7 separate regions of the Homo sapiens genome follow, and all the other regions are linked to region 4. Evidence: promoter capture Hi-C in human tissues and cell types (Jung and others, 2019). All regions are on one chromosome and are shown on one strand. Each heading gives the region's core, a stretch centred on a gene start or on the middle of the fragment in contact. The rest is flanking DNA. Distances are from core to core; before and after follow the strand shown.

Region 1 (2,548 bases), core at 1-2,500, 440 kb before region 4:
ACCTGTATCCCACGTACTCTATCTTCCATTCCTCGCCCTGCCCCCAGAGGCCAGGAGCTCTGCCCTTGACCTGTATTCCACTTACTCCACCTTCCATTCCTCGCCCTGTCCCCACAGCCGAGTCCTGCATCAGCCCTTTATCCTCACACGCTTTTCTACAATGGCATTCAATAAAGTGTATATGTTTCTGGTGCTGCTGTGACTTCACCTGGGGAGCGGTCCTGCTGGTTCTGAGATTAAATGTAATGCCAAACGTTCTTGCCTTAGCCACACCAAAGAATTGGGTGTGGCGGCTGCCCGCGGCGAGTGATGGAGACACAGACCAAGAGAAGAAAAAAACTGTAGGTTTTATTGAGCAGAGTGACAGTACAAAGCTTACACAGCATGGAAGGGGTCCGGAGAGGGTAGCCACTGTTGGTTTTGGGTGATTGCCTTTTAATCTCTTTAAGGCGGGAAATACATGTGGTGGGAAGATGTTACCAGAGAGAGAAACAAAGGCAGTAAATTATTTTGTGACATGTCTTAGATTTTGAGGAAAAACAGAATTGCAACTTAGGTTTTATCTAATTTTATCTACTTTATGACCTTGCAGCAGCATGGCAAAAGAGACAGGATTTTACAGGACTTTACAAAGTATGTTCACAAGGAATTGGAATTGGGAGCATAGATAAGGTCCGCTGGTCACAGAAAAAGGGTCTTTTAACATTCCTTTTAGTTTTAGGGGAGGGGGAAGGAAGAGAGGGAGAGAGGACACAGGGAAGCTTACAGCAGAATTTTTGCTGTTTATAGCTTTCTTGGGGAAGGAAACACATGCACAAATCCTGGTGTTAGGAATATTTTAGGCATGTATCTTCAGTACTCTTCATCCAGGACCGAAGTAAGTCCTGATGCAGGAAATGAGTGTTTCACAGCTTTCTGAACCCCTACTCGACCCAGGAAGCCCAGCTGGACCCTCCTTTCATGAGCAGGTTGGTCAGCCCCTGCACTGCCCCTTCCAGCCTCTGTGCATCTCTTGGGGACGGGGCAAGTGCTCAGGCCTTCTGGTTTCGGGCCTCCTGCCGTGAGCAGCAGCTGGATCCAGGACCCTGGGAGGAGTTCCTGTGTCCTGCAGGTCTCAGCTCCTACTCAACGTGGGCTCTTTCCGGGAACGTCAGTGCTGAGTCCGGGACACCCTGGGCCCAAGGCCACGCTCGCGGCCTGTCGGCAATCCAGGCTGTCGGCTCAGGACAGAGGGAAGGGTTAAGCCCCCAGCAGGGCCAGGGAGGGGCAAGGTGGCACCGGCTCCCCAGCTGCTCCCAGGCCCTGCTCTGTGGTGCTGGGGACCTGGCTTTAGTTCCTCGGGGGTGGAGGGGGCACCGCGCTGCCTGCCTCCGAGCTGTCTGGAGCAGCCAGTCCTGCAGATGTGGGCAGCTCAGGGCCCGTGGGAGGGAGGGGGCTTTGTGCCCAGGGCAGCAGCTGAAGGAGCCCCGGGCCTCGCAGCCCCTCCTGGGTGACCAGGTGCTGCTTCGTGGCAGCTGCCCCCTCCCGTCCAGCGGGTATGGGCCCTGCTCCCCCGTGGTGGGGGCGGCGCAGGAGAGTGGAGCGACCCTCATCTAAGTTACCTCTACCCGGGTCTGAGCCCCCGGACAGACACCCCCGCCCCGACCTGGTTACAGCGCCCTTCCCCGGTTCGGTCTCCGGTGTGCGCATGTGGGGTGCCCCATGGGCGGCCGCGGTGGGAGCTGGGGTGGCCATGCGCGCCCCCGCCCCGCCGTCCACCCGCGACTCCAGGTCTGGATCTACTCGCCCTCCCCACCCTTTCCCGCCCCCAGCCCCGGAGCCGCGCTCTCACCCCAGGGGCGGCAAGGGCGATGGACGCGGAGGAAGCGCCCTCTCCCCCTCGGGGGTCTCCCGGAGGCGAGTCCCGAAGGGGGCGAACTCCGAAGTGGGTCCCGGGTGGGAGGCGCGCGGCCCCGCCCGGCGGGGAGGGGGAAGCGGCGGAGGCGGGTGCTCAGCGGCGCCCCTGGCGGCGGCCGGCGCAGGTGCAGGTCCCGGAGGAGGCTCCGCCCGCAGCCCAGACCCCCGCGGGGTGGGCGGGACGCGGACCCTGAGACCCGCAGCGCCGGACCCGGACGGGAGCCCCTCTCCTCCCCCTCGGGCACGTCCCCGGCCGAGCCTTCCCGCCCTCCTCTGGGGCTCCCACCTCCCCTTCACCCGCGGGGGACCCGATTTCCGCGTCTCCTGGGCCCCTCCCTGGGCAGGGGGTCCAGCCGGAATCCAGGAGTGACCTGCTGGAGGACTTGGTGGCCAGGGAGTCACCCTGGGAGCCCGGTCCTGTGACCCCTTAATGGATTCTCTGCGCTCCTGGGCGGGCCCCTTGGTCGCATCGGGGCAGGGGAATCGCAATAAGGAAAGTGTAATTCACGCAGAGCCGGCTGCGGGGGAGACGGGAGTTTTATTATTACTCAAATCCTTCTCCCCAAAAACGTGGGGATCCGAGTTTCGAAGGATGATATGGTGGGTAGGCGGCCAGTGAGTCAGGAGCGCTGACCGGTCCGGTTGGAGATGA
Region 2 (4,154 bases), core at 1,514-4,013, 380 kb before region 4:
GCATGACTTTGTTTTTTGCTTTATTTGGAAGTTAAATGTGTTTTTTAAAAGAAGTGTGCGTCTGTGCTGAGTTGTCAAGAGGAGGAACCTGCCAGGTTGTTCTCTCTTTTTTTTTTTTGAGACCGAGTCTCGCTCTGTCACCCAGGCTGGAGTGCAGTGGCGCGATCTCGGCTCACTGCAAGCTCCGCCTCCCGGGTTCACGCCATTCTCCTGCCTCAGCCTCCGAGTAGCTGGGACTACAGGCGCCCGCCGCCACGCCCGGCTAATTTTTTGTATTTTCAGTACAGACAGGGTTTCACCGTGTTAGCCAGGATGGTCTCGATCTCCTGACCTCGTGATCCGCCCGCCTCGGCCTCCCAAAGTGCTGGGATTACAGGCGTGAGCCACCGCGCCCGGCCAGGTTGTTCTCTTATTCTAAGCTGGAGACCCATTTCCCAGAACCTTCTCCTCTGTGGCTGGGTCACACCGAAGTGAGGCGGTGGCCGTTCTTCTCCAGAAGGGGCCGAGACGGATGTGGTAGCATATGGAGCATCTGCGTCCGGCAGATCCCAGCTCGCCCCTCAATTGTACCTACTATGCTTTGGATCCACAGGGGACACCCTCTGACTGTGGACCCATGAAGTGTCCCAAACACGTCTCTCCCGACATTGCCAACACTTGCCTTCTAAGAACCTGTTTACGGGTCAGGCCAGCCGTTGCCTCCCCAGAGAGCGACCCTGGAGCGGGAGCCGGCCTCCCTCCATCACCCAGCTCATCTCCTTCACGTCACTCACCACCAGCAAAGCGACTATGCGTTCACTGGTCTGTCCCTGCCTAGTAACATGTAAACTCCATGAAAGGAGGGCCCTTTTCTGTCTTGCTCACTGCTGTGTCCCCTAAGTCCCTGGCTCGTCAGGACACTAGAATACTAGGTAGCGTCCACTGGCTGGATGAATGTGCCTAGGATGGGGTGCCATGCAGTGGAAAGAGGGAAAGCATTAGACGCACAGCCAGACAGATGCACATAGAAAATATGGGACTTGGAGAAACAGAATGAGACACATAAAAGAGCACCACTGGCCGGGCACAGTGGCTCACGCCTGGAATCCCAGCACTTTGGGAGGCCAAGGCGGGAGGATCACTTGAGCCCAGGAGTTCAACGCCAGCCCGGGACACATGGTGAGACCCTGAATCTGTTAAAAAAAAAAATACAAAAAATTAGTCCGGCATGGTGATGCATGCCTGTAGTCCCAGCTCCTCAAGAACCTGAAGTGGGAGGATCGCTTGAGCCCAGGAGGTCAAGGCTGCTGTGAGCTGAGATTGCACCACTGCACTCTAGCCTCAGAGACACAGTGAGACCCTGTCTCAAAAAGGGGTGGGGCACTATATTTTAATGAATATGCAGATAACAGAAATATGAAAAGTGGACTGCAGGAGGCAGGAGATGAGGAGCTGATGGGGTGGGGGAAGGTTTGAGAGACCGGGTGTTGTTTAAGGGCCGGTATGAACAGCAGGATGTAACCAGCTTGCTTCTGTGCTCAGAAGTTAGGGGAGGAGGATGGAGGGGAAGGAGGGAAGGAGTTGAGGTCTTAAGAAGGCAACTTCTGGGCAATCTTCCATTGTGAGGTGGGGTCCACGTCCCCACAACCCACGAACTTGGGTGGCCGTGCGGCATGTGGCAAACCTGAGGGGTGACTCCAAGATGCTTCACTCTGTGTGCTGGACCGGGAGGCTGCCCCTGGCAGCTGAGCCTGCAGGCGCTCTGGCCAACCACCCGGGGTGAGCCCAGCCATTCCTGCCGAGGGTGCACTGGCTTGGGGCAGAAGTCTCTGGATGGCTCCAGCCTGTCCCGCGGAGCCGGCCCCACCACTCACGTCTTCCCACCGGAGGCCAGCACCTCGAGGAGCAGAGAGGAGCTGTCCCCGAGTGCCCTGAGTTCCTGACCCACAGGACACAGGAACACAGGAACGCTGCTGTTGGACAGCACTGAAGCTGGGCGGTTTGCTACACACCCAGAGACAGCTGAGCAGACAGAGGGAGAAGAGTAGGGTCACGCTGGCAGCTGGACAAGGGAAGTACTGGGGGGACAGAGGGACTGGCAGGGGTTGGTGCAGACCAGGTGAGAAAGGGCACGAAGTGGGACAAGGTCCCGGTGAGAGGCACGACACTGTCACCTGCCTCAGGCCGCGCTCGGTGGGGCGGGGGCCACCAGCTGAGGCCCCTCCTGCCGCCCAGACAGCTCGGCCCCCTGCGGCCCCAGCCCTGCAGGCTGAGATCCCGCAACGACTCCCACCCCTGGGCTGAAGCCGGTGCTTGGGCCCCCCCGCCCCCCGGCCTCTCTCGCCCGCCCCCATTCCCCGCCCCCCAGGACCCCGGGTCCCTCCCCTCCCTCCTCCGTGTTGTCCGCCTGCAGTCCTTCGGGTCACTGTTCTCGGGAGGCCGCCCCGCCCCACAGTCAGGCTGTGCCCATCCCCCGCCGCCCCCCACGGTCCCCGAGCCCCAGCGCTTCCCAGCCCCGCGTCTGTGTGCCGCGCCCCCGCGCTCCGTGGCCCAGGTGGACGCGCGCCCCGCGCCCCGCATCCCTGTCCGTCCCGCACCCCTCACCCCCCGCCCCGCACCCTCCGCACCCCCCGCCCCGCCCCGCCTCCCCTCGCCCCGCCTCCTCCGCCCCGCACCCCGCGCCCCGCCCCGCCTTCCCGCGCCCCGCACCCCTCCCCGCGCGCCGCCATTGGCTCCCCGCGGCCTGGCTCGGTCCGATTGGTTCCGCGCGCGCGGCCGGGGCCCGATCCGCGGTGGCAGCCGTGGATGCTGTTCGGTCCCGCCGCCGCCCCAGGAGCGCGGAGCCGGGAGCGGCCGGGCGGGGGGCACCGCGAGGAGCCGCCCCCGCCGCCCACCCCGGGCCCGCGGCCGAGGGCGGCCTGGGGGGGTCGCGGCCGCACCCGGTGGCCGCGCACGGCGGACAAAGGACCATGCGGGGCCGCGGGCGCTGAGCGCGGCGGGGCGGGCCGGGGATGCGGCGCGGGGCGGGCGGGGGCCGGGGGCTGCAGCGGCGCCGCTGAGCGCGGCCTGGGGCGGGCGCGGCGGCCGCGATGCCGCGGCTCCCGGTGAAGAAGATCCGTAAGCAGATGAAGCTGCTGCTGCTGCTGCTGCTGCTGAGCTGCGCCGCGTGGCTCACCTACGTGCACCTGGGCCTGGTGCGCCAGGGACGCGCGCTGCGCCAGCGCCTGGGCTACGGGCGAGGTACGGCGCGGGGGGCGCGGGGGGCGCGGGGGGCGGGGGCGGCGCGGGGGGCGCGGGGGGCGCGGGCGGCGCGGGGGGCGCGGGCGGCGCGGGCGGCGGGGGCCCCGGGGCGCGGGCCGGGCCTCCCACCGCACAGAGGTCTCGGCTGGGCCCGACCCTCCCGGAGACCCCGCCCGCTGTTCTCCGCTCTGCGATTTGGGGGGAGGGGGCGCGGTTCGGCTCGGCCCGGACGCTCGATGACGTCGGCAGTGACGCGCGCGACCCTCCCAGAGAGGGTCCCTGACTCTGGGATCTGGCTTGGATCCGGTAGTGAGGGGCTGACGGTGGGCTCCTGGGGAAGTCTCTGCCCCTAGACCCTGCTGAGGCTTCCAAGAGGCCTTCTCAGGCCTCGCCTCCACCCCCTGCCCGCTTAGCAGGGCCTCAGTTTCCCTGTGTGCTGGGGACCCGGGCCGGGGCTTGCTGAAGTGGCCGGTGCAGCTGGGACGCTTCCCGGCGGGGGCGCCTTCGGTGAACTGTGCCAGTGTTGTGGGGGTCCATGCGTAGGGATGGGGCCCAGCTTGGGGAGCCTGGCGTAAACTCTCCCAACCCCAACCCACAAACAAAGCAGATGGGGTCACGGTGAGCCAGCCGGGGTAGGGCCTCCTGGAGATGGTGATCTTTGACATACACCTTTGGGGGAAAGAGCATTCCAGACAGGAAGGCGCAGATGAAAGCCTGGCGGTGGGGTTGGGGGAGAAGGTGGGGCAGAATGCCCCCTCTGGAGGAGGGAGGTTAGTGCCATGCCCAGACCAGGAGAGACCCCAGCTGGCTGCCTCTGAGCCTTTTCCAGGGAGCCAGGTGTCCTGAGGGGGCAGAACAATGATACTGGCTGGGGACTCCTGGGCCACTCCACCTGCCAAAGCCCCTGTGTTCTCTTCCTGTACCGGGACGCCTGG
Region 3 (3,970 bases), core at 155-2,654, 510 kb before region 4:
TGCCATCTCGGCTCACTGCAACCTCTGCCTTCCGGGTTCAAGTGATTCTCCTGCCTCCGCCTCCTGAGTAGCTAGGATTACAGGCGCCCGCCACCACGCCCGGCTAATTTTTGTAATTTCAGTAGAAATGGGGTTTCACCATGTTGGCCCAGCTGGTCTCGAACTCCTGACCTCGTTATCCACCCGTCTCATCCTCCCAAAGTGCTGGGATTACAGGCGTGAGCTACCGCGCCCGGCCAACTCTTCAGGATCTATTAAACTTTTTTCTTTTTTTTTTCCCACAGGTAGATAAGAGTCTTGCTCTGTCACCCAGGCTGGAGTGCAGTGGCTCAATCATAGCTCACTGCAGCCTTGAACTCCTGGACTCAAGGGATCCTCTTGCCTTAGTCTCAGGAGTAACTGGGACAACAGGCTTGCGCCACCATGCCCGGCTAATTTTTAAATTTTTGGTAGAGATGGGGGTCTCGTTATGTTGCCCAGGCTGCTCTTGAACTCCTGGCCTCGAGCGATCCCCGTCTCAGCCTCCGAAAGTGCTGGTATTACAAGTGTGAGCTACCACTTCGAGACTCACTTTTCACCAACATTTTCAGCAGTTGTGTCAGACAGCAAGTCAATGTGCCATTATTTACTTAAATATTCATCCATTATAGGGCATCTGATACCTAACAACCATGGACCTTAAGATTTTTTCCTATGTAGCCTCAGTTCTTAGATGCAATTACTATGGAGACGGGTACGATCACATGCCAGTGGGAGTATTAACCGCACAACATTTATGAGGGATCATTAAAGCGTTAAATGCATATACTTTTGGACCTAGCAATCCCAGTACTAGGAATTTATGCAAACAGTGAGGTGCCAACAAGGTTATTCACCACAGCATGATGCACAATAACTAAAGGTTAGAACGTATTTCAATGAGGGAATGGTGAAATAAACGACAAAACCCCCATAAGTGACGTCCACAGATCAGCATAAAGACGGAGGCCCCGGTGTTGGAACGCACGTAAACTCCCAGACATGCCGCAAAGGAAACACGGCAAGGTGAGAAAGAGTGGGCGAGGTGTCGACAACGAACACGCAAGAAGTGCTTGTCCTTGCCCAAAATACCTCGAAAAGAAGAAACTGGGAGCTGCTGCCCTCGGCTGCCTCCGGAATGCCCTGGGCACCTCGGGTCTGGGAGGCCTCTGCAAGGGGCGCGCCGGGTCCAAGGGCTCACCGCGGGCCCCATGGCTGCCTCTCAGCCCCGCACTCACATCGTCCCTGCCGCCAAGCACCAGCCGACAGCCGCAGGCCTGAAACGGCCCCACGCCTCCCCCGGCCTCGACCCGTTCAACTACCCGGCCCCACAGCCGGAGGGCTGCCGCGGCGCGCCAACCCCAGAACGCCATGTTCCGCGCAGTCCAAGGAGTCCTCCGGACTCGCCCCGCCCCCGGCGCCCCGGCCCCGCCTCCGCCTCCCACCCCCGCCCCCGGCGCCCCAGCCCCGCCTCCGCCTACCGCCCCCGCCCCCGGCGCCCCGGTCCCGCCTCCGCGCCCCGCCCCCGCCTCCTTGCCGACGCCTCCGGCGCGCCCAGGTAGACGTAGAGGCGAGTAGAGGAAGTTCCCTAGTCTGGTGTCTCATCTCTCGCCCCGGAGGTCAAACCTGGAGCCAGCATTTCTGTACCCTGCGCTCACACCTTTTTCAACCCGGATGGCGGTGATAGTTAATACTTTCTGAGCGCTTTTACTATGGTCAGGCATTATATTTACACCTAATCCTCGCAAAACACTACTGGGAAGATCCTCATTTGACAGGAGCAATTCCGGGTCACAAAGGCTGACACCACAAAGCTAGTCCGTAGCGGGTTCGACCACAGGCGCCCACACTCTTTGACGCCTCAATGGCACAGCCAAGTGCGCGGGAAGTGGGCTGCAAACGCCGGAGAGTTTTGTCCGGAGCGCAGAGACGCGCTGTAACCGAGCAACCAGCGGGGCCCGCCCCCGGCCTGCTACGGCGCTCCCAGCCTGCCCCGCGCCGCTCGGCGCCGGAAGTGAGTGAGCATTTCCGGCAGCCATCCCCGCGGTGCTGACATCCCGGTTGTTCTTCTGTGCCGGGGGTCTTCCTGCTGTCATGAAGGACGTACCGGGCTTCCTACAGCAGAGCCAGAACTCCGGGCCCGGGCAGCCCGCTGTGTGGCACCGTCTGGAGGAGCTCTACACGAAGAAGTGAGCGCCGAGCAGACGGGCCCTGGGCCCCGGCGATAGAGGGAGACGGAGGGGGCAGGCGGGCGGAGGAGCGGACCCTTGATGGGCTGAGGGCGCCCAGACCCAAGTTGGGGGGAAACGGGGACGTGTAGCGACCGGCTGTGCCGGCAAGGTTTGCTGAGGAACCTTGAGTGGCAGGGTCGAGGAATAAGAGGGATGACAGACCACGAGGGCCAAGAGCTGTAGCCAGGATGTTTCGGTCTGAGATTCACTGCTTCCTTAACGGGGGACTGAGACTGAGGCTTCTGAACTCCTACCTCGGGTCTTACTAAAACGGTTCAGGAGTAGCCTTTGATTTTAGCTCTTGATTCCATCTAACAAGCAAACACACTTTCAGGGCCACCACCCACTTTGGGAAACATGTTGGTGATTCGTGCTTAGCCTTGTCATAGTGTAACTGTATCTACAGTTATCTTTCTCATGGTCTGGAGTTGATAAACCAGAGGCTAGTACAGCTTTGCTGTTTTCCCTATTCATTCTGCAGCTGGTTGCACGGGGTGCAACCACTTCCGCCGTCCCATTGTCTTTACCTTCCATTGTATTTCTCATGGGCTTTCTGCCCCTAGAAAGATCTTAAAGTTTAGGTTTGTTTAGAAACAGGATGAATTGCAGAGCAATTAAATTCTTGCTAAGCACTAACCTCCTTTTAATATGAGTAGAATAAATTGCTGGCATTGGGCTGGAGCTATTCCATAGAAAATACATCTCCTGTAGTAACCTCCCTGTTAACCCTAGCATTTAATATAATACCTTTCACATAGATGTTCCATACATGTTTTGATGATGTTTAGCATTCAGCAGCCTTCTGCTATTAGCAGTTTTTGAGAGCAAATTAATGTTTGGCAAATAATGGTTTGTGTTGGATAGCACTTGGTAATTTTCAAAGCATTTTATCTGCGTTATTAAATATTAGCCTTTGGGTTTTGGATGAAGCGCTATGTCACTGTCCCTGAGGTTTTAAATATTAGCTTATTTAATCCTTTATTCATCCTTTTCACAGAGGAGGAAACTGAAGCTCATTTTAATTGCCTTCCCTGAGATACTCAGCTAATAGGTAGAAGAGCCAGCATCTCAAGTTAGATATGTATGATTCCAAAGTTCTCGTTTCCAGTGAAACCTCACAATAACCCTTTGAGTTAATCTAGATTAATGTTCTCCATTTCATACCTGGGAAAACTGAGTCTTAGAGAAGTTAAGTGATCTCAAAGTGACATAGCCATTCAATAGCAGAGCCAGGAAAAGAACTCAGGTTTATCACATCTGCTTTAGCATTCTTTCTGCTACACCGTAGAGACTGGTTAGTATGGATTTAGTATCCCTTATCAGAAATGCATTGGGGCGGCCGGGCGCAGTGGCTCATGCCTGTAATCCCTGCTACTCGGGAGGCTGAGGCAGGAGAATCACTTGATCCTGGGAGGCAGAGGTTGCAGTGAGCCGAGATGGCGCCACTGCACTACAGCCTGGGCAACAGAGTCAGACTCTGTCTCAAAAAAGAAAGAAAGAAATGCATTGGGGCAAAAGTTTTTTTGGATTTAGTATTTTTTCAAATTTTGAAATATTTGCGATATATACTTACCCGTTCAGTATCCATAAATCAAAAATCTGAAATCTGAGATGCTCCAGTGGTCATTTCCTTTGAGCCCTATGTTGGTGCTCAAAAAGTTTTGGATTTTGGAGCATTTTGAATTTTGGAGTTTTGGAGTTTTGGATTAGAGATACCCAAC
Region 4 (3,975 bases), core at 1,383-3,882:
CTCCGTCTCAAAAAAAAAAAAAAAAAAAAATATTTTTGTTGGCTGGGCGTGGTGACTCACGCCTATAATCCCAGCACTTTGGGAGACTAGGGTGGGCGGATCACGAGGTCAGGAGATTGAGACCATCCTGGCTAACACGGTGAAACTCTGTCTCTACTAAAAATACAAAAGTTAGCTGGGCGTTGGCCGGGCGCAGTTGCTTAACACCTGTAATCCCAGCACTTTGGGAGGCCGAGGCAGGTGGAACACGAGGTCAGGAGTTTGAGATCAGCCTGGGCAACACGGTGAAACCCCGTCTCTACTAAAAATACAAAAGTAGCCGGGCATGGTGGCCCATGCCTGTAATCCCAGCTACTCGGGAGGCTGAGGCAGGAGAATCGCTTGAACCTGGGAGGCGGAGGATGCGGTGAGCTGAGATCGCGCCATTGCACTCCAGCCTGGGCAACAAGAGTAAATCTCCATCTCACCAGAAAAAAAAAAAAATTTGTCACTTTGGAGCAAGCAAAGACTCCTTAGAGAAGATACCAAAAAAGAGGAGTAAATATAAAATTAAAACTTGATAAATTGAACTTAATCAAAATAAAAAGCTAACGTTCATTAAAGACACTATTAAAATGAAAAGGGAACACATGCTGAGAGGAAGTATTGAAACCACCTTTGCAAAATTATAACTAAGGAAATTATGACAGTGAAAGATAACAGACTTAACCAATTCCATCTTGTTTCTAACCTTCAAACGGTCCTTGTCCATTACTGGCCATAGGCCAAACAAGTCTTGGGAAGGAATTTAATTTATAGTTTAAATAATAGCCCTTCCCCAAAACTAGACTGTTCTTGTAAAATGAATGAAAGGCCACCAGCCACCAAGTTAGAATGAGAGGGGCTGGAAGTCTAAATATTATCAGCCATTATTCTGGAGGTCATAAGATAAGATTTGCAACTTCCCCAAGATATCAACACTACTGTGAACCTAGGGTTGGCCTTTTTTTTTTTTTTAAATGGAGTCTCGTTCTGTAGCCCAGGTTAGTGTACAGAGGGACAATCTCGGCTCACTGCAACCTCCACCTCCCAGGTTCAAGCCATTCTCCTGCCTCAGCCTCCCAAGTAGCTGGGATTACAGCCATGTGCCACCACGCCTGGCTAATTTTGTATTTTTAGTAGAGACGGGGTTTTGCATGTTGGCCACGCTGGTCTCCAACTCCTGACCTCAAGTGATCGCCTGCTTTGGCCTTTCAATGTGCTGGGATTCCAGGCCTGAGCCACCGCGTCAGCCTAGGATTTGCCTTTTAAGAAGTCTTTTCCGCCGGGCGCGGTGGCTCACGCCTGGAATCCCAGCACTTTGGGAGACTGAGGTGGGCGGATCACGAGGTCAGGAGATCGAGACCATGCTGGCCAACATGATGAAACCCCGTCTGTACTAAAAATACAAAAATTAGCCGGGCGTGGTGGTGAGCGCCTGTAATTCCAGCTACTCGGGAGGCTGAGGCAGGAAAATCGCTCGAACCCGGGAGGCGGAGGTTGTAGTTAGCCAAGATCGCGCCACTGCACTCCAGCCTGGGCAACAAGGGCGAGATTCCGTCTCAAAAAAAAAAAAAAGTCTTTTCAGGTTTTTGCATTTCTGACAACCGGATGGCCCCACCTGGACCTGCCAACCAGTTGTGTGGCCTCTACCCAGGGACTGACTCAGCATAAGCGGACAGCTTCGACTCCCTGTGATTTCATCCCTAGCTGACCAGTCAGCACTTCTGACTCACTGGCCCCCTACCCACCAAATTATTCTTAAATACTGGGATCCCCGAGTTTTGGGGAGACTGATTTGAGGAATAAAACTCTGGTCTCCCGAACAATCGGCTCTGTGTGAATTATGCTTTCTCTATTGCAATTCCCCTGTCTTGACAATAGACTCTGTCCCGGCAGCTGGCAAGGCGAACCCATGGGGCGGTTACAGTGTCTGCAACGCAGACACAAGCGACAGAGACTTGATCAGAATATACAAGGAACTCTGCAAGTCAGCGATGGTAAGAAGCAGGGCAGCTGGGCCTCCTACGCCTGCCTCGCCGTTCGGTCCCCCGGACACCTCTGGGCTTAGGACTCAGGGGAACAGATTCCCAGAAGCAGGTTCCCCGCCGCGTCCGGCGCCCGGGCTCTGCAGCCGCCCCCTGCTCTGCCTCCTGCACCCGCAGGGCGTCCCCCGCCGCTCCCTCCCCTGCTTCCTGCAGCGGCCCCCGACCCCAGTCCTGGCCCCACCATGGATCCTGCATCGCCGGGTTCGGCCCTGGCGGGTTCAGCCCCGCAGAGTCGGCACCCGGGCCAGGTCCATCTCCTCCAGCCCTCCCGGTGCGTCCCGCGGGGCAGGAAGGAGGCGAGGCCCAGCCGCCCCGTGTCGTGCAGGTGTTTTCCCGGGCCCGTCCGCGGCGGCTGCTGAGGACCTGGGGAGACCCAGCCTGTAGGATCCGCAGCTGCGGTGCGCGGCCGGCAGTGGCGCTCGGGCTTCGTCCCCGGGGGCGGGGCTTCGTCCAGGCGCGCAGGGACCAGCGGGCCTCGCCCTCCCGCGCCGCTTTCCGATTGGCAGCCGCCCGCGGGGCATTGTGGGCCGTCCGCGCGCCCGTCCCGTCGCCGCCGCCGCCGCCGCAGACCCCTCGGTCTTGCTATGTCGAGCTCACCCGTGAAGCGTCAGAGGATGGAGTCCGCGCTGGACCAGCTCAAGCAGTTCACCACCGTGGTGGCCGACACGGGCGACTTCCACGGTGAGGACGGCGCGGAGCCCGGGCGCGGCGCAAGCGCCCTCCAGAGGCCCCGGCGCCCCGATTTCCCCGGGTCTCCCGTTCCGGGACGCGGACCGGGTGGCGGTGCCCCGGGCGGCTCGTTCCGGGAGGAATGAGCGCAGGTGCCGGATGTTGGGGCCAGGGACAGCCGTGAGGGGAGCGGGGCCCGGGTCGGCCGTGAGAGGCGCAGGGCCAGCGGCGACCGTGAGGGGAACGGGGCCCGGGTCGGCCGTGAGGGAGCAGGGCCGGGGGCAGCCGTGAGGAGCTGGGGTCAGCCGTGAGGGGCTCGGTGCTGGGGTCAGCGGTGCGGGCGGTACTGACGGGTCCTTGCGAGCCGTGGGGCACGAAGCCGGAGCCCCAGCCTCGCCCTCCGCCCAGGGTGGGGTCGGCTGCGCCCTCAGACCCCGCACCCGGGACGGGCTGTGGGCAGCCCGCGGGAGCCCCTCTGTGCACCTTCATGGGTCGAGGCAGCTTTCAGAGCCTTTGAGTTCAGGAGAGATTCAGGGTAGAGCTTCGAGCTGACTTCCACGTGGCCAGTTTGTGGTCAGCGAGATGCAATTTTGTTGGGCTGATGTCTGCAGAGCGGGGACATCAGCTAGCTCTGACCAGAAGCTGCCAGTGCTGCCATCGCCCTTGAGCCCTGCGGTGCCCAGTGGGACAACTCCGTGGGCGGCAGGTGCCCGGCCTGCTGGACAGCCACCGCCAGACGCACCGGGTGGGTAAAAGCCGGTGCCCATGAAAGCACAGGGTTGGTACACTGTTAAATACTGGATTTTCCTGGGCTTGAGTTGTTTACATTGGAGAGAACTTGGAAAATACAAAGAAGGATTATTTATTAATACTTAGCTCTTCTGTCCTCTGCAGTGCAGAGTAGACGAGCCTTGTGTCTATGTTTTGTTGAGAACAAGTAATATTTTTTAAGAAAATCATGAAACGCTTCATGGATGAATGCTGCGAGCACCTAATACGGAAGTGACTTCCTCTCTTTTCTGCTTTCTCATGGTGACTTGAGAAACAGGCTTTAATTCCTCTTTGGTAACTGAGTAAGGGCATTGTTTATCTAGCAGAGCCTAGAGAGTGAATTGGCATGTTTGGCTGCTTAACCATAAAATATGGGGATTCAGTGACTGGCTTGGGGTGCCACAGTCTGCTCCGGACCCCTCTTTGGGAGATCCAAAGCTAGAGCTGTGAATCCCTCACACACACAGCC
Region 5 (4,186 bases), core at 873-3,372, 410 kb before region 4:
CGAGGTCAGGAGATGGAGACCATCCTGACTAACACGGTGAAACCCCGTCTCTACTAAAAATACAAAAAATTAGCCGGGTGTGGTGGCGGGCGCCTGTAGTCGCAGCTACTCGGGAGGCTGAGGCAGGAGAATGGCGTGAACCCGGGAGGCAGAGCTTGCAGTGAGCCGAGATCGTGCCACTGCACTCCAGCCTGGGTGACTGAGCCAGACTCCGTCTCCAAAACAAAAAAAAGCTTTATTGCTCACACAAAGCCTGTTTGATGGTCTCTTCACATGGACTCGCATGACACCTGCCTCAAAAAAAGAAAAAGAAAAAGAAAAAAAAGTTGATCAAAGATTTGAAAGAGTTGCACTGTCCTAAAAACACAGGCTGGATCCAAAGAGATCATGACAACTTGAGACTCAAAGTAGCCCTTGGGCCCCCCATGTCTCTATAGGCAAGAAAGGAGCTGAGGAAGCCACTCAACTCTCCAGCACCCACCCTGTGCGGCCACGGAGGACCGTGGGGATGGGAAGTGTCCCCTCCACCAAGCACAGCCCTCATCTCTTCCCGGAAGTTGCTCCCCGGCGTCAGCGTCCTCACCCAGCCACCCCTGGGACTTTGGAGTTGCTGCAGAGCATGACTGCTGGGATCTGCCTTCTTCCCTTCCAAACCGTCGAAGCCCCTGTCCCTGCTCCTTGGTTGAATACTGGGGGCGTGGGCAGAAAACTCTTCATCTTTTTAATTCAGGGCCCTCCAGCTTGGGAGGAGACACAGCTAGGCTGGATGCGGCAACTTGTGTACTTTTGACCTTCATGTAGCTGGAGGACACCGGGTTGCCCTTGAGGAAGCAGGTGTATTTTGCCTGCAGGAAGGGCAGTCTTCTGAGTACCTCGCAGGTGTCTGGATGTGGTGCGCATTAGTGCTGTTCATCAGACACCTTCAGCTGTCCTCTGGGCAGATGGCAGGGTTGTGTCTTCCTGTGGAGTTCCTTCCTTTCGCCTCAGTGACCACGGAGACGCATGTCGAGGTGTGACCTCGCCTGGGCCTCTGCATGAGGGTGGGGAGCAGAGTCCTCCTTAGTGGGAGTGGAGCGTGCACAGGACGTAATTACGTGGGGCCATTTGTTACGCAGCCTAACACAGCCTGTCCTGGCTGATGCAGATGGCCATTGCAGCAGTCATCTGCAGGTCCTCAGCTTAGTCTCACCCTCACTGGAGATCTTAGCCTTGGCCTCACAGGTGCTCCAGACCTTTTCCTGGCAGAATTTTGGTGACTTCAGAAATATGATGACTGCTGAACCCACTTCTCCCAGCATTTCTATTTGTGGTTGCCTGGTGTATTTAAAGTCTGTGTTGATGGGTGCATATATTTTTAACGTTTCCCTATTGTGAAATTTAATAAATTTACAGCAAAATGTATAAAATACGAAAGTAAAAAACTATCACCCTAGTCAAAAAATGGTGCATTACCCATCCCCGAGAAGATGCCTGCCTGTCCCTGCCCAGTCACGACTTTCACTCGCGTCCGTCCATGTGAAGAGACCACCAAACAGGCTTTGTGTCAGCAATAAAGCTTTTTAATCACCTGGGCGCAGGCGGGCTGAGTCCAAAAACAGAGCCAGCGAAGGGAGATAGGGGTGGGGCCGTTTTATAGGATTTGGGTGGGTAAAGGAAAATTACAGTCAAAGGGGGTTGTTCTCTGGCGGGCAGGGGTGGGGGTCACAAGGTGCTCAGTGGGGGAGCTTTTCCAGCCAGCATGAGCCAAGAGAAGGAATTTCACAAGATAATGTCATCAGTTAAGGCAGGAACAGGCCATTTTCACTTCTTTTGTGATTCTTCACTTGCTTCAGGCCATCTGGGCGTATATACGTGCAGGTCACAGGGGATACGGTGGCTTAGCTTGGGCTCAGAGGCCTGACAACCACCCCTCCCATCCCAAAGACCACCACTCCGGACTTCTGTGGTGAACACATTCTTGCTTTTTGTCAGGATTTCAACACCCACGTGTGGGTTAAACCAAACCTAATCGAGTGTTGGCTAAACCCAAACACGATGAGTTAGAGCTTCCAACATCTAAGTTCTTGGACGTCTGCTGATTAGGGTTTTCTATGGAGGCCTCATTATGTAGGGACGATTGCTTAAATCATTCCCCTAAGGACTGACTCAATCCAGTCCCTCTCCCCTCCCCACAGGCTGAGGGTGGGGCCGGCAGTTCCAGCCCTCAAATCGCCTGGCAACCAGAGCCCCTTTCCAAAGGCCTCTCACAGCGTAAACGCAGGTGTGGTTGAGAGGAGCTCTATCTTTACTCCTCATCGCCTCGGAATCACAAGGATGTTAGGGGCTCTGCAGAACCGGGAACGAAGGCCAAGCCGGTTTTTCTTACTGTATCACCGTATCCATTTCCCATTCCTTGAAAAAATCTTCAAGTTTACCTTTTGTTTCCAAAAGCATAGCGCGCACCGCTGCTTTATTGTCTGGGAATTCCAGCACCCGGAGTTTTTGCTGCCTGTGGCTCCGCTTGTCCCTCGCCCTCACTGTCTTCTCTCTCCACGGTGCCTGTTTATGCTTCATTGTTGGACACGGAGCGACTTCCAGGCCTGGGGTGTTATCTCCATCAGGGGAGGATTGCCTGCTGATTCCGTCAGGCACCGGGAATCACCCAAGTTCAGTTTCAGAGAACTTTTCCATATTTCTGGGTCTTTTCTTAAAATGTATCTCTTATTAAATCTGTCTTTTAATTCATATTTATTATAATAATTCTTCTACAAGGACATTTCTGCCATAGTTTTTATATTTTCTATTTGCCCTACTTTTGGGGTTTTTTTCTTTTGGTGATTATCATGAGAGATTTTTTCTTTTATAACTTTTCTTTTTTTTTTTGAGATGGAGTCTCGCTCTGTGGCCCAGGCGGGAGTGCAGTGGCGCGATTTTGGCTCACTGCAACCTCCGCCTCCCGGGTTCACGCCATTCTCCTGCCTCAGCCTCCTGAGTAGCTGGGACTACAGGCGCCCGCCACCACGCCCGGCTAATTTTCGGTATTTTCAGTAGTCAGGGTTTCACCGTGTCAGCCAGGATGGTCTCGATCTCCTGACCTCGTGATCCGCCCGCCTCGGCCTCCCAAAGTGCTGGGATTACAGGCGTGAGACACCGCGCTCGGCATAACTTTTCTAAAAATTTATATTTATTCATTCATTCAACAAATACACACACACACACATATACACATTTTTTTCTTAAGATGGAGTTTTGCTGTTGCCTAGGCTGGTCTCAAACTCCTGGCCTCAGGCTCTCCTCCCGCCATGCCTGGCACCACAAAACTTGTTGAGTCCCTCCTTTTTGTTGTTAGGGCTCCAAATGTGATCTTCAAATACGGCCCTTTGGCATGTTGAGTACTTGGCTATGGAGGCACTAAGGGCCCCTCAGAAGCAAAAGCCTCTCTGACCTTCTCCTTCCCTCCTATTTCCTGCCCCATTTTCTCCCCAGTGTGAATCACAGAAACCAGAATTCCTTTTCCCCACAGAAAATAGAACTCCTCTCCCCCAAAGCAGGCCGAAAACCTGGAAGGTCACTCTGTCCCTTTCCCTTGGAGGCCTTCCTTCCAAGAGGTCCTGCCCCCATGCGTGGGAGGGAGGAAGGGGCTTTGCAGGGGAGGCTGAGAAGGCTCCCCCCTCAGCCTTCCCGCTGGCTTGTTCCCGTTTCTGCACAGCTGCACATTCTTCATCTAATCTGAGCATAAAGAGCTTCCCTGGGTCTCTGGGTCTTCTGTGTCACACACAACTTGGACGCAATAAATGTGCTCTGCTTTCCTCTTGTTAGCTGTGTGTTGTTGAAGAGTGTCGCTGTGACCCTGTGACGGGTGAAGAAAGGTCTCACAGCCTTTCTGCTCCCACAGTGCCAAGACTTGTTGCACGTGATGAAACAAACCAAAACACCCTAAAATACTGCGGGTTGTTGAGAGGACGAAAGTTAAAACACAGGGCGATGCTCTGTCCCTCTCTCTGCTTGCCTGATGGCAGGACAGCAAGTTACAAAGACTAAGGGCTTCCTGGCCTCCTCTCTGCCTTTCGCACCTGAAGACACTTGTATATCAGCTCAGAGACAGAGAGATTCCAGGAGGAGATGTTGCTCTTCCCGTAAAGGTTCCTCCCCACATTTTCCTGCCTTTGTCTTGTTCCCATAGGATTTATGGCTCATGTTAAAATAC
Region 6 (4,100 bases), core at 917-3,416, 490 kb before region 4:
GCAGCTAATGAAGCCCAGCTTCTGAGGAAAATTCAGTTGTTGTGCCTCATGGAGGTAAGCGAACACCCAGGAGCCACTTTGTCTGTGGTTTCAGATTTTGGTCAGGTGGGGGCGCTGCACTCTCCAAGCCTGTGCTGAGCAGTGTGAGCTTTCAGTGGTGCTGCTTCTGCTGTGCGCCGCTCTCTTCACCACCTTCCTTTTCCTTTGCTACCACTTGCTCTTCTAAGTTTATATTTGGCTCTTAGCTCAGACGACACCCTCCCACCCCACTGCCACCACCCTGAGGCCTTCCCTGACCATCTGAACTGAGATGAAGTAGCTGCCCCTCTCCCCGTGATGCAGTTGTTGCCTCATTGCATGTCGCTTCTTGTGTACACGCACATCTGTCTTTCCCCACTAGAACTTAAGCTTCGTCAGGAAGTGGCCCTTAGATTTCTGGTTTGCCGTGGTCACCCCTGGTCAACCCTGGCAAATTGTGGCCTCAAGTACTTGTTCGGGGATTGAACAATGGCTACTGTCAGAAACTCCTGTAAGGCATTTTGCTGTTATCCTTCTTATCTAAGCATTAAAAGCTTGTTCTTAACAAGATATATGTCTAATATTAGGAAACTTTTTAGTATGTGGGGTACTAATAAGATCTCTATTTTCAGAGCCAATATTGACAAAACATCCTTATCAGTTCTCTATTTTTATTTGGAAAAATAGTTTAAAATAGTTAATAAAATTTTTTCCAGATGACTTTCACACGACCTGCCAATCACAGACAACTCACTTTTGAAGAAATTGCCAAAAGTGCTAAAATCACAGTGAATGAGGTACGGTCCCTAGGCTCAGGGTGTTAGAGCAGCAAAGCTGCCACATGGAGGAGTCAAGGCTCTTGTGTGAGCGCTGTGCTCCCTAGACAGTAAAAAATGACGGGAGGAGCGGCATCTGCTTCTCACAAGCCATCTGGGTCCATGGGGGTGTGTCAGGCTATCTTGTCTTACACACGCCTCCCTCTCTGCACAGGTGGAGCTTCTGGTGATGAAGGCCCTTTCGGTGGGGCTGGTGAAAGGCAGTATAGACGAGGTGGACAAACGAGTCCACATGACCTGGGTGCAGCCCCGAGTGTTGGATTTGCAACAGGTGATGTGTTTGAAACCCATTATTCACCTCTGTGGATTTTGAGGGGTTGTGTCTATACCGTCTTAGTTTCATTTGGATGGAAGCCATTTGGGAAGACAGCATTATTAGACAAGAGGTTTTGGAGAAGGAAATACTGCTGTTGGGTTTTTCTAAGAGCCTAATTTAATGCAAGCCTAGGGTTTGAACCCTGCATTTAAAAGCTTATGATGACAATGGCACTGGTTGTGCTGACGGTGCCTTTTAATCTTAAGATAGGAGCTCTGATCAGATACGTTCCTGGTTCTGTGATTTGAGCTCACGTCGCTCTTACATTTGCTGGAAATGCGATCCTGTGGATTTCCTCTGTCCTTGTCTGCTTTCTTTCATGCAAGTTTTTTCTAACGTTCCTGTGAAAAGAATTAACCCGGCAAGTCCCGTCCCACTCCCCCAGCTCAGAGGTCCTTTTTACTAGAGCTGCCCTAGAGAGTTAGCTGGAGATGTAGAGTCACCCCATCAGGTGCTGTGCCGGCCGCTCGGCCTGTGTCTCCTGCGTGTCTTAACGTCCCTTGTGTCCGGATTTCCATTTCAGATCAAGGGAATGAAGGACCGCCTGGAGTTCTGGTGCACGGATGTGAAGAGCATGGAGATGCTGGTGGAGCACCAGGCCCATGACATCCTCACCTAGGGCCCCCTGGTTCCCCGTCGTGTCTCCTTTGACTCACCTGAGAGAGGCGTTTGCAGCCAATGAAGCTGGCTGCTCAGACGGTCGACATTGAATTTGGGTGGGGGTTGGGATCCTGTCTGAAGTACAGACTGTTCTTGCTCTAAAAACAGGACTGTCCCTGATGGGAGCCAGGCCACAGGGAGGAGGCTTCTTTGTGGGTCTCTCCTGCAGAGGGTGGGGGTCTCAGGGTCTTAGGTGATACGGGAGAGAAAGAACGTGCCAGGCAGGAGGCCCCCTGAAGTCTGTGTACTCCGAGGTGGATCTCCATCCCCATCCACCTGTACGGACATCTTTTCCGTTGCGGTTTGAGAATGTTCCTATAATAAACCCCTCTGCTTTGTTCTTCTTGTGGCTCTGTTTTCTTGGGCTTAGCTTCCAGGCCAAGCCTGTGCCTGGAGGTTAAAAAGCATGAGTTGGAACCTTGGGAAGACACGGTGGGGGTAGCCTTGGCCCTTCTCCTCCCTGCACATACAGTAGACGGGCAGAATCCAGCACCAAGGACTAACGAAGACGCTGGTCCTATCTTTATTGTTAGTCAAGAGAGACCTAGGGGTATCCACTCCCTTCTCCAGCCCTCTCAGGTACCTGCCCCGACACAGGCATCCATCCACATCCTTGTCACCACTCATCATTCAAATAGCCACCAGCATCTGTGACCTGGTGTGCCCCAGTGCGGACATGAGCCATCCCTGGGACTGGGCATGTAAAGGAAACCACCTTGAGGTTCCCCGTCTGGGAGTGGAGGTGCACGTACACAAAGAATCACAGAGTGAACATTAGGTGGAAGGACAGTTTAATGTGATCTTTCAGTCCTGGGCCTGCAGTGACAGCATGGAGCTCTTGCAGCTCTCCAGGTCGGGTGAGACCCAGCCTCCAGGAACCAGGAAGCTGATGAATGTGAGAGCCCCACGGCCTGCTCCTGTTGGAGGAAAGCACCCACAAGTCTGCTAGGCTGGCAAAGAACAGTTGTCCGGCATCTTCTCCAGCCTTTTCCTCTTTGGTTGCTGGTGTCTGAGCTCCTGGTTTTTTCCACCTCGTCCAGGCCTCGCCTGACCTCATGGCCCCAGACCCCTCTCGGTCTTTCCACCCACCCTCTCCAGACCTCGTTTGGCCCTGGTCCAGATGGCCTGACACCCCAGCTGTTCCTCGTCAGTCACAATTGCTGGGATCTATTGACCACTAGCCTTTATACCCACCTCACTGTCAAGTTCCCAAGGCCCTGTGGTGCACCCTTCAACCTTCCGCAGCCCCTCTCAGCTGCTCAGGCCAAATGTCTTAGTGTGAGCCTCCATTTCCCTCAGACACTCATGTGTACATCGAGCCCGCTGACTCCCCACCCTCCCTAAGTCCAGCCTCAAACCTGTCCTCCATAACCGCTCCTCCACACAGCAGCCCAGACAGTCTTCCAGAACAATCAGGTCTTGTTGCTGCCGCTGCTCAGCATCCTCCAACAGGCTTCACTCACCCCCAAGGCCTGAGTGCTCTGACCACTGCCTGCCTTGCTGGTCCTGCTCCTACCCTCATCTGCTCTCCCTGCACCCCACCAAGGCTCCTGCCTCATCCCAGACATGAGCTGATCACAGCCCAGAGAGACACAATTCTGCATGCTGAAATCCCGAAAAATCAAAATTCTGAAAATATATTTCTGGAAAAAATAATTTTAAAATTATTTAAAAGATATTTATTTACTTTTTTTTCATTTTTTTATTTTTGAGACGGAGTTTCACTCTTGTTGCCCAGGCTGGAGTGCAATGGCACCATCTCCGCTCACTGCAACCTCTACCTCCTGGGTTCAAACAATTCTGCCTCAGCCCTCTGAGTAGCTGGGATTACAGGCGCCTGCCACCACACCTGGCTAATTTTGTATTTTTAGTAGAGATGGGGTTTCTCCATGTTGGTCAGGCTGGTCTCAAACTCCTGACCTCAGGTGATCCGCCCGCCTCAGCCTCCCAAAGTGCTGGGGTTACAGGCATGAGCCACCACGCCTGGCCATCTATTTACATTTTTAAAGGGGATTTATTTGAGAAACATAAAAACATGACATATGACAGAACACATCATAGGCCACTTCACACAATAAAATAGACAATAATAATATCCATGTTTCTGCAAGTGTAAACAGTCATACCAATGACAGTTATGCACAGATGAGCTGTATTCGTAAAGAAATGTGTTGAGAGGGGAAATGCATGAACACCTACCGCTCGGGTGGGAATTGCGTGCGCCCAGGTTCATAACTGCAGTCTTCCGAAAAGCCAGGATGAACAACCTA
Region 7 (4,143 bases), core at 1,411-3,910, 470 kb before region 4:
TCACTGTAGCTTGAACTCCTGAGCTCAAGCAATCCTCCTGCCTCGGCCTCCTAAAGTGCTTGGATTACAGGTGTGAGGGCAGTGGCTGGAGGCCAAAAGTTTGAGAACAGCCTGGGCAATATAGCAAGACTCAGTCTCTATTTTTTAATAAAAATATTAATTTATATAAAAATACAAAATTTTATTTGTCATCTTTACCATTTTAAGTGTATAGCTCAGTGCTAATAAATATATTTACACATATATTATTTTCTCCTTCATCTCCGTTCCCCTACTCTCTTTCCTGGCCTTTTTTATCTTTTAAAAGACAGAAGTCTTATTACCCTGCCAAAGATGGTCTTGAACTCTAGCAATCCTCCCACTTAAGCCTGTCCTGTAGCTAGGACTATGCCCAGTTTGGTTAAACGTATTTTTAATTCCTCTGACTTGTTTTTTGACCCATGTGTTATTTGCAAGTGTATTGTTTATTCCAAATATTGGGGGATTTTCTGATTGGGAAGCTCCTTCCATTCTTCCCAGTTTGCTTAGTGTTTTTAACCATGAAGAGGTGTTGGAAAATGTAGACTATTCTTTCTGTCTCTATTGAGATGATCAAGCAGTTTTTGTCCTCTTAAGTATTACTATGATATGTTACATTAATTGATTTTTGGATGTTAAACCAACCTTGCACTCCTTAGAGAAAACACACTTAGTCATGGTTTGTAATTGTTTTTATATGCTAATAGATTCTGTTTCTGAAGTAGTTTGTTAAGGATTTTTCATGCCTGTATTCATGAAGGATATTGGTTTACAGTTTTCTTCTGATGAGTTTGCCTGGTTTTGGTATCAGTGTCACAGGCCTCAGAGAATGAGTTGGGAAGCATTCCCTTGAGAGCTTTTCTTTGTGGGAAAGTTTTTTTTCCCTGTAATTAGTAATTCAATCTCTTTACTTGTTATAATTTGTCTTAGTCTATTCTCACATTGCTGTAAAGACATACCTGAGACAGGGTAATTTATAAAGAAAAGAGGTTTAACTAGCTCCTGGTTCTGTGGGCTGTACAGACTTTTGCTTCTGGGGAGGCCTCAGGAAACTTACAATCATGGCAGAAAGCAAAGGGGAAGCAGGCAAATATTCATGTGGCCAAAAGGACAGAGAGAGCAAAGTGGGACATGCTACACACTTTCAAACAACCAGATCTCATGAGAACTTACTCACTATTACAAGAACAGCAAGGACGAAATCCACCTTCATGATCCAATCACCTGCCACCAGGTCTCTCCCCCAACATTGGGAATTACAATTCAACATGAGATTTGGGTGGGGACACACAGCCAAACTGTTATCAGAAAGAGGTCTTGATCCAGACATCATGGTTCTTGGATCTCATGCAAGAAAGAATTTGAGTCAAATCCATAAAGAGTAAAGTGCCAGGCATGGTCGCTCACACCAGTAATCCCAGCACTTTGGGAGGTCCAAGGCAGGCAGATCACAAGGTCAAGAGTTCAAGGCCAGCCTGACCAACATGGTGAAACCCCGTCTCTACTAAAAATACAAAAATTAGCCAGGCATGGTGGTGCATGCCTGTAATTCCAGCTACTCAGGAGGCTGAGGCAGGAGAATTGCTTGAACCCAGGAGGCGGAGTTTGAAGTGAGCCGAGATCGTGCCACTGCACTCCGCCTGGCGACAGAACGAGACTCCATGAAAAAAAAAAAAAAAAAAAAAAGAGTAAAGTGAGAGCAAGTTTATTGAGAAAGTAAAGGAATAAAAGAATGGCTATTCTATAGGCAGAGCAGCCCCAAAGGCTGCTGGTTGCCCATTTTTATGGTTATTTCTTGATTATATGCTAAACGAGGAGTGGATTATTCATGAGTTTTCCAGGAAAGTGGTGGGCAATTCTCAGAACTGAGGGTTCCTCCCCTTTTAGACCATATAGGGTAACTTCCTGACTTTGCCATGGCATTTATAAACTGTCATCGTGTTGGTGGGAGTGTCTTTTAGTGTGCTAATGTACTGTAACTAGAGTAATGAGCTGTGAGGATGACCAGAGGTCACTCTCATTGCCATCTTGGTTCTGGTGGTTTTGGGCCAGCTTCTTTACACCATTATCAGCAAGGCCTTTATGACCTGTATCTTGTGTCAACCTCCTGTCTCATCCTGTGACTTAGAATGTCTACCCTCCTGGGAATGCAGCCCAGTAGGTCTCAGCCTTATTTTACCCAGCACCTCTCATTTCCACATATTAACCCCCCCGTTCCACACACTCTCACATTTGGTCCCAGGGGTCTCGAACACCCCTGACGTCCAGCCTCTGCCCGCCAGCTGTTCAGGTCGGGTGGGGAGGCTGCAGTGCAGACCCCTGCCCGGCGTCTCCCTGGAGACTGCCTTCCCTCCCATATATGGTGCGTGCTGCTGGCTGTCCCCCCTGTTCCCTCTACCTGGAAGTCTTTCCTCACCCCTGCCTTCAGAGTCTAACCTCTCCCCAGGCCTCAGCTGAAGGCCTGGCTCTGAGCCAGCCACCTCCTTCACACAACCCACCTTGCTCTGAAGCTGCCTGCTCACAGCCATGCCCCGATGCCACACCCAGGGGTTCTTGGGGAACATTAATGGGATAAAGGAGTAAGAAAATCAAAGGTCACCAAACGGAGCCCTTAAAGGGCAATGCTCTGCGTGTGCCACGGTGCCCAACAGCATCTCGTGCCAGCTGAGCTGCGGTGTGTGGACCCGGGGAATGGACCGGGCTGGACAACCTCTAAGACTTGGCTCCAGCTCAGCCTGTGAAGGAATCACCTCTCTGATCCCCACCTCTGCCCCGGAGTGCTAGACCCAGGGAGGAAGAGACCCCATGGACCAGCCAGAGGCCCCCTGCTCCAGGTGAGTGCTGGCCCCAGGGTGGTCACTGGGAACCGGCTGGTCTCAGCCCTCTGGGGCCTCCACCTCACCCGCTGACTTCCTCAGGCTCTCCACCCTTGTCCACATCCTTCCCCCACCCTCACTCCCAGGCTCAGGAGCCAAGCACTGCCTCCCCACAGAGGGCATTTGTGGAGTCTGTTCCCCACCAGGGGCTCAGATTCAGGCCCTGGTGCAAGGCCCCAAGCTGGGCCCCACCAAAGTGTGGCAGGGGTGGGGGCCCAGGAATACAGCCTGGGCCTGGCAGTGTCTGCTGCCAAAGAGGCCAGTTCTGCTCCGGGATCGGGAAGAGAGGGAAAAGAAGGAAAGCGAGGAAAGAGAGCTCAGGGTTCCTTGGAAATACCTCCCTCGGGGCATGTGACCTGTCCTGGGGTGTGGAAGGACAGAAGCAGAAAGGGAGGTGCAGGGGAGGAAGGTGCCCCCCAGAGCTCAGATCAGCGGCGGCCAGTGCCCACTTCACCCTCAGAGGGCGAAGAACACCAAGACGCCCCGACCCGGGTCCGGGGACGGGGGAGGGAAAAGTCTGGGGTCACTCCCCGTTGCCCCCTCCCGCCACCCCATGGATCCAGACGATGCTTGGCCCGGGACTCCCTGAGGCCCTGCCCGCGGTGGGTTCTCCGGCGCCAGAGTCGGGGGCGGGCGGGGGTCACCCGAGGGCCGCTCCCCGATGACCCGCGCCCGCCCGCCTCCAGCACGGGGCCGCGCCTCGCGGTGGCCCGCGAGCTGCTCCTGGCTGCGCTGGAGGAACTGAGCCAAGAGCAGCTGAAGCGCTTCCGCCACAAGCTGCGCGACGTGGGCCCGGACGGACGCAGCATCCCGTGGGGGCGGCTGGAGCGCGCGGACGCCGTGGACCTCGCGGAGCAGCTGGCCCAGTTCTACGGCCCGGAGCCTGCCCTGGAGGTGGCCCGCAAGACCCTCAAGAGGGCGGACGCGCGCGACGTGGCGGCGCAGCTCCAGGAGCGGCGGCTGCAGCGTGAGTTCTGCGCGGGAGGTCCCTCCTGTCTGGGCAGAGGCTGGGCTGCCCTCCTTCCCGCTTCCCGGAGAAGCCCCGGCGCGGTCCCCGGCCCCCGCGCGTTTTATCCACAAATTCGCGGGCCCCAGGGGTAGGACCCTGCGTGCTCCTCAGGGTGACTCGGACCCCCGTGGCGCCTTCCCCTGTTCCCGCCCTCGGCGGAACCTCACCCCAGTTTCCCTTCCAGGGCTCGGGCTCGGCTCCGGGACGCTGCTCTCCGTGTCCGGTGGGTCTCTCGCTGGG

What was found. Contacts are between HindIII fragments. The study calls those that stand out against the background at their distance.
Region 1: a fragment that was not itself captured here is called in contact with the fragment with the promoter of TALDO1 in region 4 in 1 of the 25 tissues and cell types used here (heart left ventricle).
Region 2: a contact is called between the fragment with the promoter of B4GALNT4 here and the fragment with the promoter of TALDO1 in region 4, in 3 of the 25 tissues and cell types used here (lymphoblastoid cells, pancreas and spleen).
Region 3: the fragment with the promoter of SIRT3 here is called in contact with the fragment with the promoter of TALDO1 in region 4 in 2 of the 25 tissues and cell types used here (lymphoblastoid cells and spleen).
Region 5: a contact is called between a fragment that was not itself captured here and the fragment with the promoter of TALDO1 in region 4, in 1 of the 25 tissues and cell types used here (adrenal gland).
Region 6: a fragment that was not itself captured here is called in contact with the fragment with the promoter of TALDO1 in region 4 in 2 of the 25 tissues and cell types used here (adrenal gland and spleen).
Region 7: the fragment with the promoter of NLRP6 here is called in contact with the fragment with the promoter of TALDO1 in region 4 in 1 of the 25 tissues and cell types used here (lymphoblastoid cells).

The regions. Positions count from the first base shown.
Region 1 is chr11:309,204-311,751 of GRCh38, forward strand. It overlaps IFITM2 (interferon induced transmembrane protein 2), which reads left to right. Exons shown (of 2, transcript NM_006435.3): 2 at 1-192. Among named protein-coding and RNA genes, the nearest start is that of IFITM2, 2.7 kb to the left of the region's middle. RefSeq lists an enhancer at 2,347-2,548. The HindIII fragment of the contact is 1,366 bases long and covers 568-1,933 here.
Region 2 is chr11:366,736-370,889 of GRCh38, forward strand. B4GALNT4 (beta-1,4-N-acetyl-galactosaminyltransferase 4) reads left to right here and starts at 2,764. Exons shown (of 20, transcript NM_178537.5): 1 at 2,764-3,219. The coding sequence starts at 3,069. RefSeq lists an enhancer at 1,297-1,835. The HindIII fragment of the contact is 30,748 bases long and covers 1-4,154 here.
Region 3 is chr11:234,938-238,907 of GRCh38, forward strand. SIRT3 (sirtuin 3) reads right to left here and starts at 1,405. Exons shown (of 7, transcript NM_012239.6): 1 at 1,111-1,405. The coding sequence starts at 1,391. It overlaps PSMD13 (proteasome 26S subunit, non-ATPase 13), which reads left to right and starts at 2,039. Exons shown (of 13, transcript NM_002817.4): 1 at 2,039-2,207. The coding sequence starts at 2,113. RefSeq lists a silencer at 1,471-1,550 and enhancers at 1,701-1,890, 2,051-2,290. The HindIII fragment of the contact is 7,029 bases long and covers 1-3,137 here.
Region 4 is chr11:744,832-748,806 of GRCh38, forward strand. It overlaps TALDO1 (transaldolase 1), which reads left to right and starts at 2,633. Exons shown (of 8, transcript NM_006755.2): 1 at 2,633-2,747. The coding sequence starts at 2,651. It overlaps LOC105376509 (a long non-coding RNA gene), which reads left to right. Exons shown (of 3, transcript XR_930962.3): 3 at 1,918-2,131. RefSeq lists enhancers at 1,617-2,265, 1,904-1,963, 2,266-2,914 and silencers at 2,094-2,693, 2,754-3,043, 3,144-3,233. The HindIII fragment of the contact is 22,782 bases long and covers 1-3,975 here.
Region 5 is chr11:332,266-336,451 of GRCh38, forward strand. IFITM3-AS1 (IFITM3 antisense RNA 1) reads left to right here. Exons shown (of 5, transcript XR_007062540.1): 5 at 438-1,424. Among named protein-coding and RNA genes, the nearest start is that of IFITM3, 13 kb to the left of the region's middle. RefSeq lists enhancers at 1,064-1,617, 1,618-2,171. The HindIII fragment of the contact is 4,084 bases long and covers 81-4,164 here.
Region 6 is chr11:250,812-254,911 of GRCh38, forward strand. It overlaps PSMD13 (proteasome 26S subunit, non-ATPase 13), which reads left to right. Exons shown (of 13, transcript NM_002817.4): 10 at 1-54; 11 at 735-815; 12 at 1,009-1,125; 13 at 1,694-2,173. The coding sequence ends at 1,789. It also overlaps the pseudogene COX8BP. Among named protein-coding and RNA genes, the nearest start is that of PSMD13, 16 kb to the left of the region's middle. The HindIII fragment of the contact is 4,358 bases long and covers 1-4,100 here.
Region 7 is chr11:275,747-279,889 of GRCh38, forward strand. NLRP6 (NLR family pyrin domain containing 6) reads left to right here and starts at 2,661. Exons shown (of 8, transcript NM_001276700.2): 1 at 2,661-2,852; 2 at 3,581-3,861; 3 at 4,088-4,126. The coding sequence starts at 2,824. RefSeq lists an enhancer at 3,961-4,143. The HindIII fragment of the contact is 18,362 bases long and covers 1-4,143 here.